2 separate regions of the Homo sapiens genome follow, and region 2 is linked to region 1. Evidence: promoter capture Hi-C in 16 types of primary human blood cells and fetal thymus (Javierre and others, 2016). All regions are on one chromosome and are shown on one strand. Each heading gives the region's core, a stretch centred on a gene start or on the middle of the fragment in contact. The rest is flanking DNA. Distances are from core to core; before and after follow the strand shown. Region 1 holds the start of AKR1B1 (aldo-keto reductase family 1 member B). Region 2 holds the start of PODXL (podocalyxin like).

Region 1 (6,507 bases), core at 2,709-5,208:
TGCTGGAGAAGTGCAATGGCTACGGCCCCCAGAGCAAGGCACAGTCCAGAAATGGCTCTAATCTCAAGATGGCGCCATGCTGCAGCAGCTTGGCTCACTAAGGGAAGGGTGTGTACACACCCTGTGCTCCTAATCCGGAGTGATACAGCTATATGGATTCCCAGAAGCTCTTCAAACTGGGCACGGGGCTTGCAAGGACTGTGGGATTATTTTGTAATGAGGACTGGAGTCATTTACAGTGGCAATGGAGACTGGTGAGGTTCTTTTACCTTCTCCCTAAAAGGGGACTTCCCTCCTGTCTCTGGGCTGATGCAATTGTGGCAGGCAAGATGGGGCTACAGAGGCCATGTGCCTCCATGGTACTCTCTTGGGCTTCCAATCACTACAAGTACCCCTTTACTCCCCCATTGCACTTTAATGCTCTTTTTTCATAATTGCAGTTAAATATTAGCGGTTTATTTATTCCCTTGGTCCTTTCTTATGGTGGGGACAAGAACTAGGCATTTCTAGTCAGCCTTCTTCCTGACGTCACTCATTCCAAAATTCTTAGTGTGAGTCACAGTTTAAAAATTTGAAAGCTACTGGTAGTGGTTAAGAGTTTGAGTGCTATAGTCAAATTCCTAGGTTTAAATATTGACCCTAACATTTACTTAATGTGAGATCTTAGCAATTTTTCTCACTTCTCTGCATCTCAGTTTCTTCACGTGTAACATGGATTGATCATAGTATCCATGAAAGGGGTGGTTATGAAGATTAAATGATTTAATGTACATAACTCAATAGATATATAAGCAGCAGCAGCAGCACCTTCATATAACATATGCCAAGTGCTGAACCATAATACAGTGTCCAAACCATAATAAAGACTCAGTAGTGGTTTGTCGTTGTGGAAGAGACTTCTGTTGCTCACCATACCCATTCACTTCTGTTTTCTGGCATACAGGAGGATGACACTTCCCCATCCCATTGAAGATAGGCCTGGCTGGGCTCTACCACCAGATCTGGTTAAAGGATTATAGGTAGAAGTGATGTGTGCCACTTCCAGGACTGAGCAATTGATTGCTCATTTGAGACTCTTAGGTTCTCTTTTGCCTTCCTAAGCCAAACCCTGAAACCTTGGGTTGGGACAGCAGGGAAACAATGTGGTGGGACCTCCATAGCTTGAGTCCCTGAGTGACAATGTGAACAGAGCCTACTGTCACCCTCAGCTCCACCAGCTTGTGTTGGACATGTAGCATATAACCTTTGTTTGTTTATAGAAGCTTTATTGATGTATAATTTACGTACCATATGATTTACCTTTTTAAATATGCAATTGGGTGGTTTTTTTGTATATTCAAACTTGTACCAGATCTCGCAGGGCCTTGAATGCCAGGCTCAAGAGTTTAGGTTTTATCCTATGGGAATTGGACAGTTCATAAGAAGTTGTCTTTTAATTCAAAATGTGTTCATTAAGGAAATAATCTGACAAAGAGTATTCCCCATTTCCTTCTGTCTTCTTCCTAAATTTCCTAAATGTTATAGGTTGTATTTTCCTTCTTAGCATCATTCCATAGCTATATGACTTTGTTTTCTACTTTCACCTTAACATTACCTCATATACATTTTTCTCTGTGTCTTTGTCATCTTTACTTTTGATGGCTACACCTTATCTCTTGCTATTGTTGGATATTTACAGTTTTACTTTAAGTATACAGCATTTTAAAAATACATACGCATATGTGTATATCTGTGTGCAGGCCTGGGACTAAGGGAAGGCAAGTGCCAAGGACATAAATGTAAAAAAGCTCCTACCTTCTGGCATGAAAATTTGTACCTGTGTACCTCATTTGTCTTACCTTGGTCCCAGCCCAGCCCTATACCTAGTGTGTGTGTGTGTGTGTGTGTGTGTGTGTGTGTGTGTGTGTGTGTGTGTTTTCCTTTTAAATTATTTCCTTAGGAAAAATTCCCATGATGGGAGATTACTGGTTCAGAGCATGTTAAGATTCCAATTACTAGAGTGTTTCTCAGGAGGATTCCATTGAAGGTTTTTTTCCCTTTTTCAAACAAAATTTTGATATGTATACTTATCAAAAGATGGGAGATCAAAAATCTTGAGATCAAAAATTTTGGTATGTGTACATTTTACAAAGATTACAGAGGCAATGGGGGATGTTAGGGGGCTATCACAATAGCATGTCCCAACTAGAGTGCTATTGTTGCTATAGAAATTCCACTGATACAACTTTTCATGTCTGCATGGCCCAGCCAAAATATTCTGGGTTTATTTATTTATTTTACAGACAGGGTCTTGCTATGTTGTCCAGGCTGGTCTCTAACTCCTGGGCTCAAGCAGTCATCCCACCTCAGCCTCCTGAGAAGCTGAGACTACAGGTATCACTCCAGCTTTAGACACAGTTATAACTTCATGCAATCAAGCTGTATACTCAATTATTATCAAACCAACAACAAAGCCTCTGATATTGAGTCCATGTCCCTAACAGACGACCCTTCTGTGTGTACCAACCTGGCCACTCAAGGTGTATCATTTTCACAAGAGATTAGCTCTTTGGATTTGGACCCAGGAGGTTCAATTGGCAGAGCAACCTCCAAGTCAAGAGGACTCTCATGGAGGAAGGAACTTGCTGTTTTACACAAAGCAAGTTCCCAGCTTTAGGCTCAAGTTCAAATTCTATTACTTGGGGACAAATGAATTTGCCCAATAGCAACAATTTTTACAAAAGTTACATGGAAAAATATCTGGGCTAGTCTGTTCTGTATAAATTTTTCCAGGAGGGAGCACTTTTAAAGAAAGCACCAAATGGAAAATCACCGGCATGGAGTTTAGAGAGACCTGGTGCTTGAGTCACTACCAGGCAGATGGAGTTCCCAATCTTGCATAATTAGGGGAAAGATCGGAGGGTGATGGAGCAGAAAGAGCAGTTGGGGTGAGGTAGAGTATCATGAAGAGAGGTTGTTGGAAAGAAACCAAAATTGTCTTCAAGGATCTTCAAGTGACTTTTCTTAGGCTATCTTGGAAAAATGTGTGTTTCTACCTGCCAATTAGGGTGATCAATTTACTATTTTGTACCTTCTAATTTGAAATACTGGAAGCTACAATATTAGAGTCAACTTTTTCTTCTGTGGTTTTCTGTCTGTTCACTTTTCTTCCTCTAGAGAGTTTTGATAAGTTACTGTACTGGAACTTACTGCTTTGATAGAGTCTCACTTTCCAAAGACTGATGAAATTTGTCTTACTGATTCTGAATGGACAGCCTTACTTTCCAAATTCTTCTGAGAGTTCTGGATCAAGCCCATCAAGGCTTTCTAACCTCAAGAACATCAAAGGATGCTGGCTTTTGGTGGAAGGCTTGCTGAACCACACCTAGTATGCACAGACACAGCTAACACCTAGAGTGGGGTGCAAAGAGAGATCTAGAAGGCTACAAAAAGTCTGGGCAAACCCATATTTTGTGAAGGTGCTTTGCAAAAGGATTGCAAGCCATTTTTCTGGCATGCACCTTTGTCTAAGAACAAAGTGCGGTAAACTATATGTGTAGTCAGTATGATTCACATAGATTAAGGACAAGGTATTCGTCAGATTCCCAAAGAGCATCAAACTGGGGTTGGACAACAAAGGCATTCTTCTGGGCTCTTAATGAAACCAAAACTTATTTCTAGTCTATGTATTTATGGGATGCCTGTTATTTTCGCTAAAGCATTCGCTTTCCCACCAGATACAGCAGCTGAGGAACTCCTTTCTGCCACGCGGGGCGCGGGCGAGCGTTGGGGGCGGAAAGAATCCGCTGCCACTAGGACCAGGCGGAAGAAGCATCCCCGCCGACCCTTGGGGAAGGCCGCCGCGGCACCCCCAGCGCAACCAATCAGAAGGCTCCTTCGCGCAGCGGCGCGCCAACCGCAGGCGCCCTTTCTGCCGACCTCACGGGCTATTTAAAGGTACGCGCCGCGGCCAAGGCCGCACCGTACTGGGCGGGGGTCTGGGGAGCGCAGCAGCCATGGCAAGCCGTCTCCTGCTCAACAACGGCGCCAAGATGCCCATCCTGGGGTTGGGTACCTGGAAGGTAGGTGCTCGTGGGGGCGCGGGCCCGGGGCTCGCCTCACACTCTCCGCGCGGCCTGTATTGGCGAGGGACCCCGAGTGACCCTGAGCAGCTCGCCCCGCGGACGCCCGGCGTGCTGGGAGCCACGCGCGGGCTTGCAGGGTCCCCAGCGGGCTGGGGTCGGCCTTGCAGAGACCGGGGGCCTTGGCTCCCCGGGTTGGCCCTGGGCGTCAGGGCAGCATCCTGCGAGTGGGGTTTGGGAGCAGCTCACGGGAGCCCCCGCCCTACCGCGGGCAACCCTTGATGGGCGGCCCACCAGTCCGCATTTTGGGTCCTAGCGGGCGCCCCAAGCGGCACAACGCGAGAGGGAGGCGGGGAAAGTGGGCTTCACAGACCGGTGGACCTCGGGCGCAGACAGGGACGTGGAGCCGTCGGCAAGGTGTGGGAGCGCAGACCCAGCCTCCTTTCCCTCGAGGCACCTGTAGCCCGGTTGCCTCACTTGTAAATAGTTGGTCTCAATCGTTTCGATTCTTGCCCTCCCTGAGGAATAAGCATCTCAAGCCGGTAGAGGGCAGAGAATTAGGTGGCGCGAGTTTGCCCGGACCCAGCTGTTAACAAGGCGCAGTGCGGAGCTCCTCGGCCAGGCGCCGCCTCGGGGTGCCCTGGGTCTGGAACTCGGGAGAAAAATCTGGGCACCCCGTAGCTAGTTGATAATTCAGGAGGCGCCAAGGTTAGCATTTTCCCTGTAAAACCTCAACACCACACAGCGTCCCCGAGAAGTGCCTAGCCGGATGAGAATGACAATAGGACATGAAACATCATAGGATATGAAAAATGATAATATGATATGAAAAACCAAAAATAATAGCCTGAGCCTGATTATCTGAAAATTGAGCAACAAAGGTGGTGGTATGGGAGCTGAGGCAAAACCTAGAATTTTTAACCTTCTAAGTATTGCATATTATATTCCACAGCCATAACCTGGGTTTCTCAGTTTCTGTTTTTGTTGTTTGCTTGTTTGTTTGTGACAGGGTCTCGTTGCCCAAGCTGGGGTGCAGTGGCACAATCATGGTTCATTGCAGCCTGGAACTCCTGGGCTCAAGTGATCCTCCTGCCTCAGCACTGCGGGTAGCTGGGACTACAGGCGCTCACCACCACACCTGGCTAATCTTTTTTCTTCCCCGCAGAGACAGTCTCCGCTTGTTGCTTAGGGTGATCTCCAATTCCTGGGCTCAAAGCGCTCCTCCCACCTCGCCTCCCAAAGCTACAGGTGTGAACCATCTGGCAGGCCCACGTCCCAGGTTTTTCTCTTAAAATTTGAATATGGGCCTGGGCGTTGGATATTTACACACAGACAAGGGAAGAAAACAACAGAAAGAACTGAGTGAACTGTGAGATGTTTGAAATAGGACAGAAGAGTTTACATGTACCCTAAAACCTGCTGTTGAAAATTAGTAAATATAAGGTAAGAAAAAGGTCATTTGCATCAGGGAGAGTGTTTCTTGGCCAGAATGATCAGGGTACGTGATTTGTTTCCTCCAAAAACTCCAGTGGTGTCTCTAAGGTTGTAATTGAATTACAACCATGACACCAAGCTAATTTCCATCTGTTGCATGTTATGCTCTTGGAATGGATGCAGAAGGATGCTTTCTTGGCAATAGCAAATACTTTCTAAGCATGATGCAACGCACAGATATATACATGTAACTGGAATAAAAATTACTTAACAGTACTTAACCTATGTAGGCTGCATTTCAATATTTTTTTCTATTCCATTTTTCCAAAAATTATTGTCATACCTCCAGAAGCTAGTTTTGTGACCCATCATTTGAAAATCACTACTCTAGGGTAAATAAGGAGTAAAAGTTTATTTTTTTTTTTTTGAGACAGGGGCTCAGTGTCACCCAGGCTGGAGTGCAGTGGCATGATCATGATTCACTGTAGCCTTAACCTCTTGGGCTCAAGTGGTCCTCATACCTCAGCCTCCCAAGTAGCTGGGACCACAGGTGTGTGCCACCACACTCGGGTAGTTTGTTTTTAATTTTTTGTAGAGACAGGTTTCCCTATGTTGTCCAGGCTGAGGAGTAAAAGTTTATGAAAGAGGGTTTCAGATTATTCACTTGAGCACTCAATGCCCCAAAAAGCTATGTATTTGTTTAAGATAACATCACATCATAACATCTGTACATTTAGGTTATGCATTCCAGTAGACAGAGTTCATTGAGAAATTGGATAATGTCTGCTTCATTCATTACTATTTCTAGCACTTCTCACAGTGCCTGGCAAATATAGGAGTAGGTATCCAAAAGTTATGTGTTGAATTCATATGAAGAAGTAAAACGACTTTAGAGATAGCTGTATGGTGAAAACGCCCACTTGTATTCCTGTGGATGAGGAGATCAGGTTGGTGTAGAATTGTACGGTGGGGGCAGCGGGGAATGGTGGGTCAAAGTAATGGTATAAGGATG
Region 2 (6,699 bases), core at 1,077-3,576, 2.9 Mb after region 1:
CCATAAAGTGCTTTGGGTTTCAAATATAAGCTCAGGTGTTCTGGGCTGGCGAGCTTGCTAGTTAGAGCACAATGCTAAATGGGGCCAAAGGCACAGGCCAGTTACCTGGGGGTAGCTCATCTCAGTGGCCACCAGTGACCTCAAAACCCAGCCAGCCTCATTCCAGAAAGCCACGTTGTGCATAAGTTGAGGGGGGCTGTTGGATACTGGGGAGAGTCCAGCACAATTGTAACTTTTCTATGTCTTCTCTAAGCCCAGATGTCTGCTCTCATTTTAATTTTGCATGATCTTGTAATGGCACCAATCCCAAATCATGTGAATTTAAAATGCCCTAAGCTTCAAAATATACGCTCTCTCTTTATAAAGTTAACATGATTGCTTCTGAGTTTTTAGATAAATTGAATGATTGAGTGCAAAAACACTGTTTAAATCAGAGTGCGATACACATTTTTTAAAATCCCAGTGTAAAAAAAAATATATATATATATTGCTTGGTTTCAGAAGAGAAACAAGCCTTTTGTTGACATGATATCAGGGGAACAGTACTAAAAAAACATCAAAGATAGTCACACACACAAATATCCCAGAGTATTCATAGGGAACACCCTCTGTCTTTCCCATATGCGGTGTGGAAAACGGGGCCAGAACGATCCTGCAGAAACTTCCTGATGAAAACAACCCCGTCAGCCCTTCCCAAGCTTGAGGCCGGCTGCCACGGAACCCCAGCCAGGGCTCCAGCGCTTCCTTCGCGGCTCCAGGGACGCAGTGCCCTGCAGGCATCGCCTGCTTGCAGCCGACTTGAGGGGCTCACGGAGTCCCCTGTGCCCGGGACGCGGCTAGATCCTGGAGAAAACCCCTCCACCCAGCCCCATCTGGCAGATAGACTCCAGATTAGCAACCCCGGAGTCACGTGAGCCAAATTTACGCCGTACCCGGGTTCCAAGGTTAATCACCCCTCGCCCCCTCCGCTTCCCGGCTCCGCCGATGTGCCTCCTCTTCAGGCGGGCCTGGGGTCTGCGTCTCCCAGGCAGCTTTGGGGGTGGAAAAAAGGAGGGGAGCGGGGGAGGGGAAAGGAACTTCTTTGTTCTTTCACCGGATAAACTCAGTTTACGGAATTCTCCAACACCCACTCCCACCCCCAGTGTGCAAATATCTCTGATCCTCACTTGGAGGGCGAACTACTTCATTCATTGAGACTTTTGTGTTCCTGGCCCTAGGCTAAGTATTATCTTGTAAGATCACATTTAAGTTTCCCAACAACCCCCTGAGGTAGGTGTTATTATCCCTATTTTACAGATAAAAAGAAATGAGGTACTGAGAATAGCTTGCCTAGGGTTTTACAATTAATAGATTGGCACAGTTAGGTTTTGAGCCCCAGCCTGTTTTGACCCAAAAGCCCTAATCTTTATAGCTGTTCTTTATATAGCAGGAATAAGAGTAATAACCACTCCTTGCAGAGCAATTACTATATTCCAGGCACGGTGCACGGTATTTCTCCAAACTTCTCTCAGAGGCAGGTTTGCCACTTACCCGTTATGTGGCCTCAGGAAGTTTCTTAACCTCTTTTTGACTCAATTGCCCTGTCTGCAAAATGAGGCTAAAAATATGGTTGTCATGAAGAGTAAAAGAATTAATATATGTAAAGCCTGGCACACATTCATCCCTGAAATTGTTGTTGCTGTTGTTTTTTAACCATCATCTCCATTTCACAGGTAAGGAACCTACCCTTGGAGAGGTGAAGGAGTGAATTAGTCCAGCTTGCCCGCTGCACACCTAGCTGCAGAGAGACCCCGCTCAGAAGCCGTGCGGGATGGGGGCCCCACAGGCAGGTGAATTGCACTTGGCAGGTGGGAGATGAGCTTCTCCGGGGTCGCTGCAGAACGCGCAGCAGCCCGGGAGGCCGTGAATGGTTATCAGTTACCACGCAAGGCTGGGGGTCCGCCCGCTCCGGATTTGCTCGTAGTGCGAGGGCCCCGGCGGTGTGCTGGGGGATCCCGCCGGGCCCACTTAGAAGCACTCGGGGGGACACACCTGTTCGGGACACCTGTGGACGGGGCCCGGCTGCACCGCAGGAGCCCCCCGCCCTGGCCCCCGCGCACACACAGCCCCCCAAGGCGCGGAGGCCGCCGGCCCTCCCGCCCGTCGCGCTCCAGGGCGGAGTTTCCTCCTCTGCTCATTGTTCACGGCCCAGCGCCCGCCCAGCCCCGGCCCCGGCCCCGCCCGGCCCGGCCGCCGCCGCTGGCGGGCTCCTGGGGGAGGGGGAGGGGCGGGGGCGGGGGCGGGGGCCGGCGCTGACGGGACGGGCCAGGAGTAGCCGCAGCCGCCAGTGGGGCCGCAGCCGCGCAGACGCCGCCCAGGACGCAGCCGCCGCCGCCGCCGCTCCTCTGCCACTGGCTCTGCGCCCCAGCCCGGCTCTGCTGCAGCGGCAGGGAGGAAGAGCCGCCGCAGCGCGACTCGGGAGCCCCGGGCCACAGCCTGGCCTCCGGAGCCACCCACAGGCCTCCCCGGGCGGCGCCCACGCTCCTACCGCCCGGACGCGCGGATCCTCCGCCGGCACCGCAGCCACCTGCTCCCGGCCCAGAGGCGACGACACGATGCGCTGCGCGCTGGCGCTCTCGGCGCTGCTGCTACTGTTGTCAACGCCGCCGCTGCTGCCGTCGTCGCCGTCGCCGTCGCCGTCGCCCTCCCAGAATGGTGAGTGGCCGGCCTGGGTTCCGCCGGGACTCCCACCGTGCCCATGTGCCCCCTGCCCGGCCGAGCTGCAGGGAAGCCCGGCGCGCCGCGTGGTCCGACCCCGAGCAGCCCTATCACCGCCGGGGTCACACACGGAGCCCTGACCTTGCACCATCCACGCCCCCTCCAAACTCCGCAGCGCGGCAGGTGCAGGGCCTGGGCGTAGATTCGTCTCCACTCTCCACTCGGGAGGAGTGGGCGGTGGATTCTGCCCGGGCAAACAGGGGCGCGCCGGTGCTAAGTGGGTTTGCATGGGAAAGAAAAGGGAGACCGCACCGCGAGGCTCCACGCTTCTGCGGGACTCTCGGGATCTGATTACACCTTTCCTTCGTGTTGGAGGGAATGAGGGGCTGTAGTGTGTATTCGTTAATTCCAGGCAAAGAGGCAGGCGAGAGGCTCCCGAGGAAGTCCCTGAAGCAGGTGACAAGCCTCCAGCCACGGCCCACGCGGGCGATGTACTTACCCGTTTGCAGAGGTTTTTTCTAAGTAATGTGTGCAGGCTCAACTCCTTGAGCCCGTGCTGGGGCAGGTACAGAGTCGTAAGTGGACCTTCCACAGTCCCAGAGTCACCTGGCTGAGTGGGGGTCCTACCTCCGTGTCCCTAAAACAATCGCTTCTTAGTGCGTGGCTACGATGGTGAGACCCCCCTCGAATCCTCTTGTTCAAACGGGAACTTGTTCAAACGGGAACTTCTCTCTCGTAGAATAGGATTGGGCTGCATTTTAGACACACCTTAGAAAATGTACCTGTCTCTCATGAAACACCTGCACCTCAGAAACATCCCCTCCCTGTTTCTTTTCAAGGTGAAATGTTACTCTTTCCCTTTTGGGGGACAGGCGATGGCTGCAAACTCAACCAGAACAGGTGTTCTTAAGCCCCTAGGGAACAGCCAGAGTCAGCTCAGCCCCACGGGAGAGGTGCATTTCTCATTCTCTTTTGCCCACCTGAGCACATGTCTGCAGGAAGAGCTGAGGTGGTGTGATCACCCTAGGGCCAGGAGGACTGCGGGGACAGCACAGACAGGGTAGGGATTCTGCTGTGAGCAGGTGCCGGCAGTTTGGGACTGGACTCTAAGGGGCCAGGGGAGATGGAAGGGCAGTACAGTCTCTCCTCTGCACCGCAGGAAACCTTTGGTAGTGGGCAGGCGCTGGCACTCAGGGAGCAGGCAGGCGTGGGCATCCTCCTGTGGCCGGCGGGAGACTCCACCAGCCTGACTAGAAAGGGAAGGTCCCGGCGGGGGGAAGAATGTGTGTCCCTGGAAGAGGGGCTGCAGTGTGAGGAACAGTCAGAACAGCTTTCAGAGTGGCAATCACTGAAGAGCCACACGACATGCAGGGTTGAGATGACACGAGAGTATGGTGGCTCCTTAGCCCTACTCTGGGGACAGCTGGACTTCAGGGTGGGCCTTCATACGAACCTTTTGTTGGGAAGCCTCTTAGAACCACCCAGAAGGGCGTTGGGCTGTGTCAGGAAAGAGGGGTTAGTCCCTAGTGCTTCTGAGCTTAAGGAAGCTGAGCCACCCTTCCTTTGAGGAGTGGGAGGCACTGTGGGACAAGACCCTCCCTGTCTGCCCTAAAAGGAAATGTTCATAAGTCACCAGTGGGCAAAGCTCTGACTCCAGCTCACTGCTGGCTTCAAGGATGGCACTGTTTTTCCTGGCACCTGGGCACTGCCAGAAACCATGTCTCTTCCATGAAGCACCACTTCTGGCCTAACACAGGGTTTGGCACATGGCAGAAGTTTGGTATGTGGCAAACAAAAATGACCATAACCCAGTGCCTGCTCTAACCAGCAAGTAACTTGGCCTATCTGAGCACTGTATGCATTATAGTATGCAGCACTGTTGGGAAGCACTTAGAAAAGTGCAAAGTGCTAAGTGGGGGATGGGGAGAGGATGATGATCATGATGGTGATGATGATTTGCATGTATTGAGGCCAGAAAAGGCTTGTGGGGGGCATGTTGCGGCAAGATTGGTCTGTTCAGTAGCTATGGTGCATTCTACACCACCCTCTAGGGACTCAGTAAGGCCAGCTCCATCCCTGTCCTTCTGAAGGTGTGGTCGCCTGGGCTGCTGTCATCGGGAATAGCATAAACACTGCCCCCCATCTGCTGGAATCCTGTGATTTGATTCAAAGCAAGAAAGATTTATAGCTCGAGTCTCTGCAACAAAGGAATTATCCCCAGACAGGTCCATCCCTGCCCCTCTCCCCCAGCTTACCTTCCAATATATGGGCAGATTATGCAGCCTACAGCAAAGAAAGCATTCACCTTAAGGGTTGGACAATTCATCAGACCCCCTTTCAGTGCTTTTTGGTTTGATAACCATCTGGCAGAACCACAATGGTAAGTCACATCTCCGTGCCTCCGTTTCGTTATTTGTGAGATAGAATAAAAGAACCAAAGGGACCTCTAGTTCCACCATGATAAGATATCTGGGGTTCCGTGTTCCCTCAGCTACTGAAAGGACAAGCTGATTCAGTACTCTCAATCTGATGTTCAATGGATGAATTCTGGGCAACAGAAAGGCAGCTTGGTGGGGTGGAAACACTCAGACTTTGGGTCAGAGAGATGTGCATGACCATGGACAAAATAGTGGACCTCCCTGAACCTCAGTTTCTTCATCTATAAAGTAATAACAGCCCTACCTTGTGGGTTGCTATGAAGATGAGCGAGTATATATATCATGGGCTTGGCTTTACGCCCAACTCAGGATCAACACTCAAAAAATAGCTATGATGATTAGTAAGCATATATATTGAGCACCTGGTGGGTTTAAGGGACCCCAGGCATTGGGATCCTGCCAATGTTTGTGGGTATCAGTGGATATATGATAATAAAAACTGAAGCCCCAGTGCCACTCTGTGGGAGAGGGAGGCATATGGAAAAGAGTATAAGATTTGGAAGGGGTGGTCTGGAGGTCTGGAGAAAGCTTCCTGAAGGAGGTGGGGTTTTCACATAGGGATTTTAAAATTAAAAGGGTCAGTGTTTCCTAATGTGGCTGAGGCTCTATGAATTGTAGTGTGTAGGGGAGATGCAGATTAGGGTCGGGGAGTCTGTGATGGTGGTTCTTGAGATGGAGTCATTGAGGCTTTGGGGAGATTAGCTCTCAGAACTGGAGAGAAAATTCCACGGTGGCAGGGTGTGGCTGCTCACGCCTGGAATCCCAGCAAATTTGAGAGGCCAAGGTGGGAGGATCACTTGAGCCTAGGAGTTCAAGACCAGCCTGGGCAACCTAGTAAGACTGTACTAAAAAGACAAAAAAATTAGCTGGGCATGGTAGTGGCACACGCCTGTAGTCCCAGCTACTCAGGAGACTGAGGTAGGAGAATTGCTTGAACGTGGGAGACAGAGGTTGCAGTGAGCCAAGATCACGCCACTGCTCTCCAGCCTGGGCAACAGAGGGAGACCCTGACTCAAGGAAAAAAACAAGGTGCCCAGGGCTGGGGTGGGGGAATGTGGGTGTTCCCAGCATGGTGCAGCTTGGGACAGGATCTGAGGCAGGAGCGAGCTGGACATGGCGGGGTTAGGAGCCCAGCCATTCAAGGGCAGACCCAAAAGCACCTGGTGTCAGTGTGGCCAGAGCTTTGGAGTGTGGTCGTCCAGAGAAGGGCTGAGGAGGGGAGCGTGGCCTGCCCAGGAGGGTCCTCAGGGTGTCCCCCAGGCCTAGAGAAGGTGGGGGAAGAGGCATGGAGGCTGTCCCCCATCTGGTTTTCCTCAGGAACCCATGTTTGAAAGGAGAGGAGGGTGCTGCCTGGGGTTTTAACACCACTGCCCTGTGGAAAGCTGAGAGGGGAAGGGGACTAGACTCCCTGTGGTTAGAATTCCCCCCCTTGCAGGGAGGGAGGGGAAGAGCCACTCCTAGCCACCCTCAGGCATCATCTCTGAGATGCCTTCCCTGGTTTCCTAGGGAGAACCAAAGTGTGTTCCATGATCTGTGTGTCTCCTCCACCATGCGGTGAGGCCCT

Evidence for each region. The method cuts DNA at HindIII sites, captures the fragments that hold promoters and counts their contacts. A CHiCAGO score of 5 or more calls a contact.
Region 2: a contact is called between the fragment with the promoter of PODXL here and the fragment with the promoter of AKR1B1 in region 1, in 2 of 17 cell types (endothelial precursors and activated CD4 T cells). The highest score is 6.3, in endothelial precursors.

The regions. Positions count from the first base shown.
Region 1 is chr7:134,456,551-134,463,057 of GRCh38, reverse strand. AKR1B1 (aldo-keto reductase family 1 member B) reads left to right here and starts at 3,958. Exons shown (of 10, transcript NM_001628.4): 1 at 3,958-4,061. The coding sequence starts at 3,996. RefSeq lists a silencer at 4,159-4,348. The HindIII fragment of the contact is 6,251 bases long and covers 1,265-6,507 here.
Region 2 is chr7:131,552,255-131,558,953 of GRCh38, reverse strand. PODXL (podocalyxin like) reads left to right here and starts at 2,326. Exons shown (of 9, transcript NM_001018111.3): 1 at 2,326-2,694. The coding sequence starts at 2,595. RefSeq lists enhancers at 1,391-1,938, 6,237-6,699 and silencers at 1,906-2,025, 2,056-2,115, 2,196-2,705. The HindIII fragment of the contact is 4,965 bases long and covers 701-5,665 here.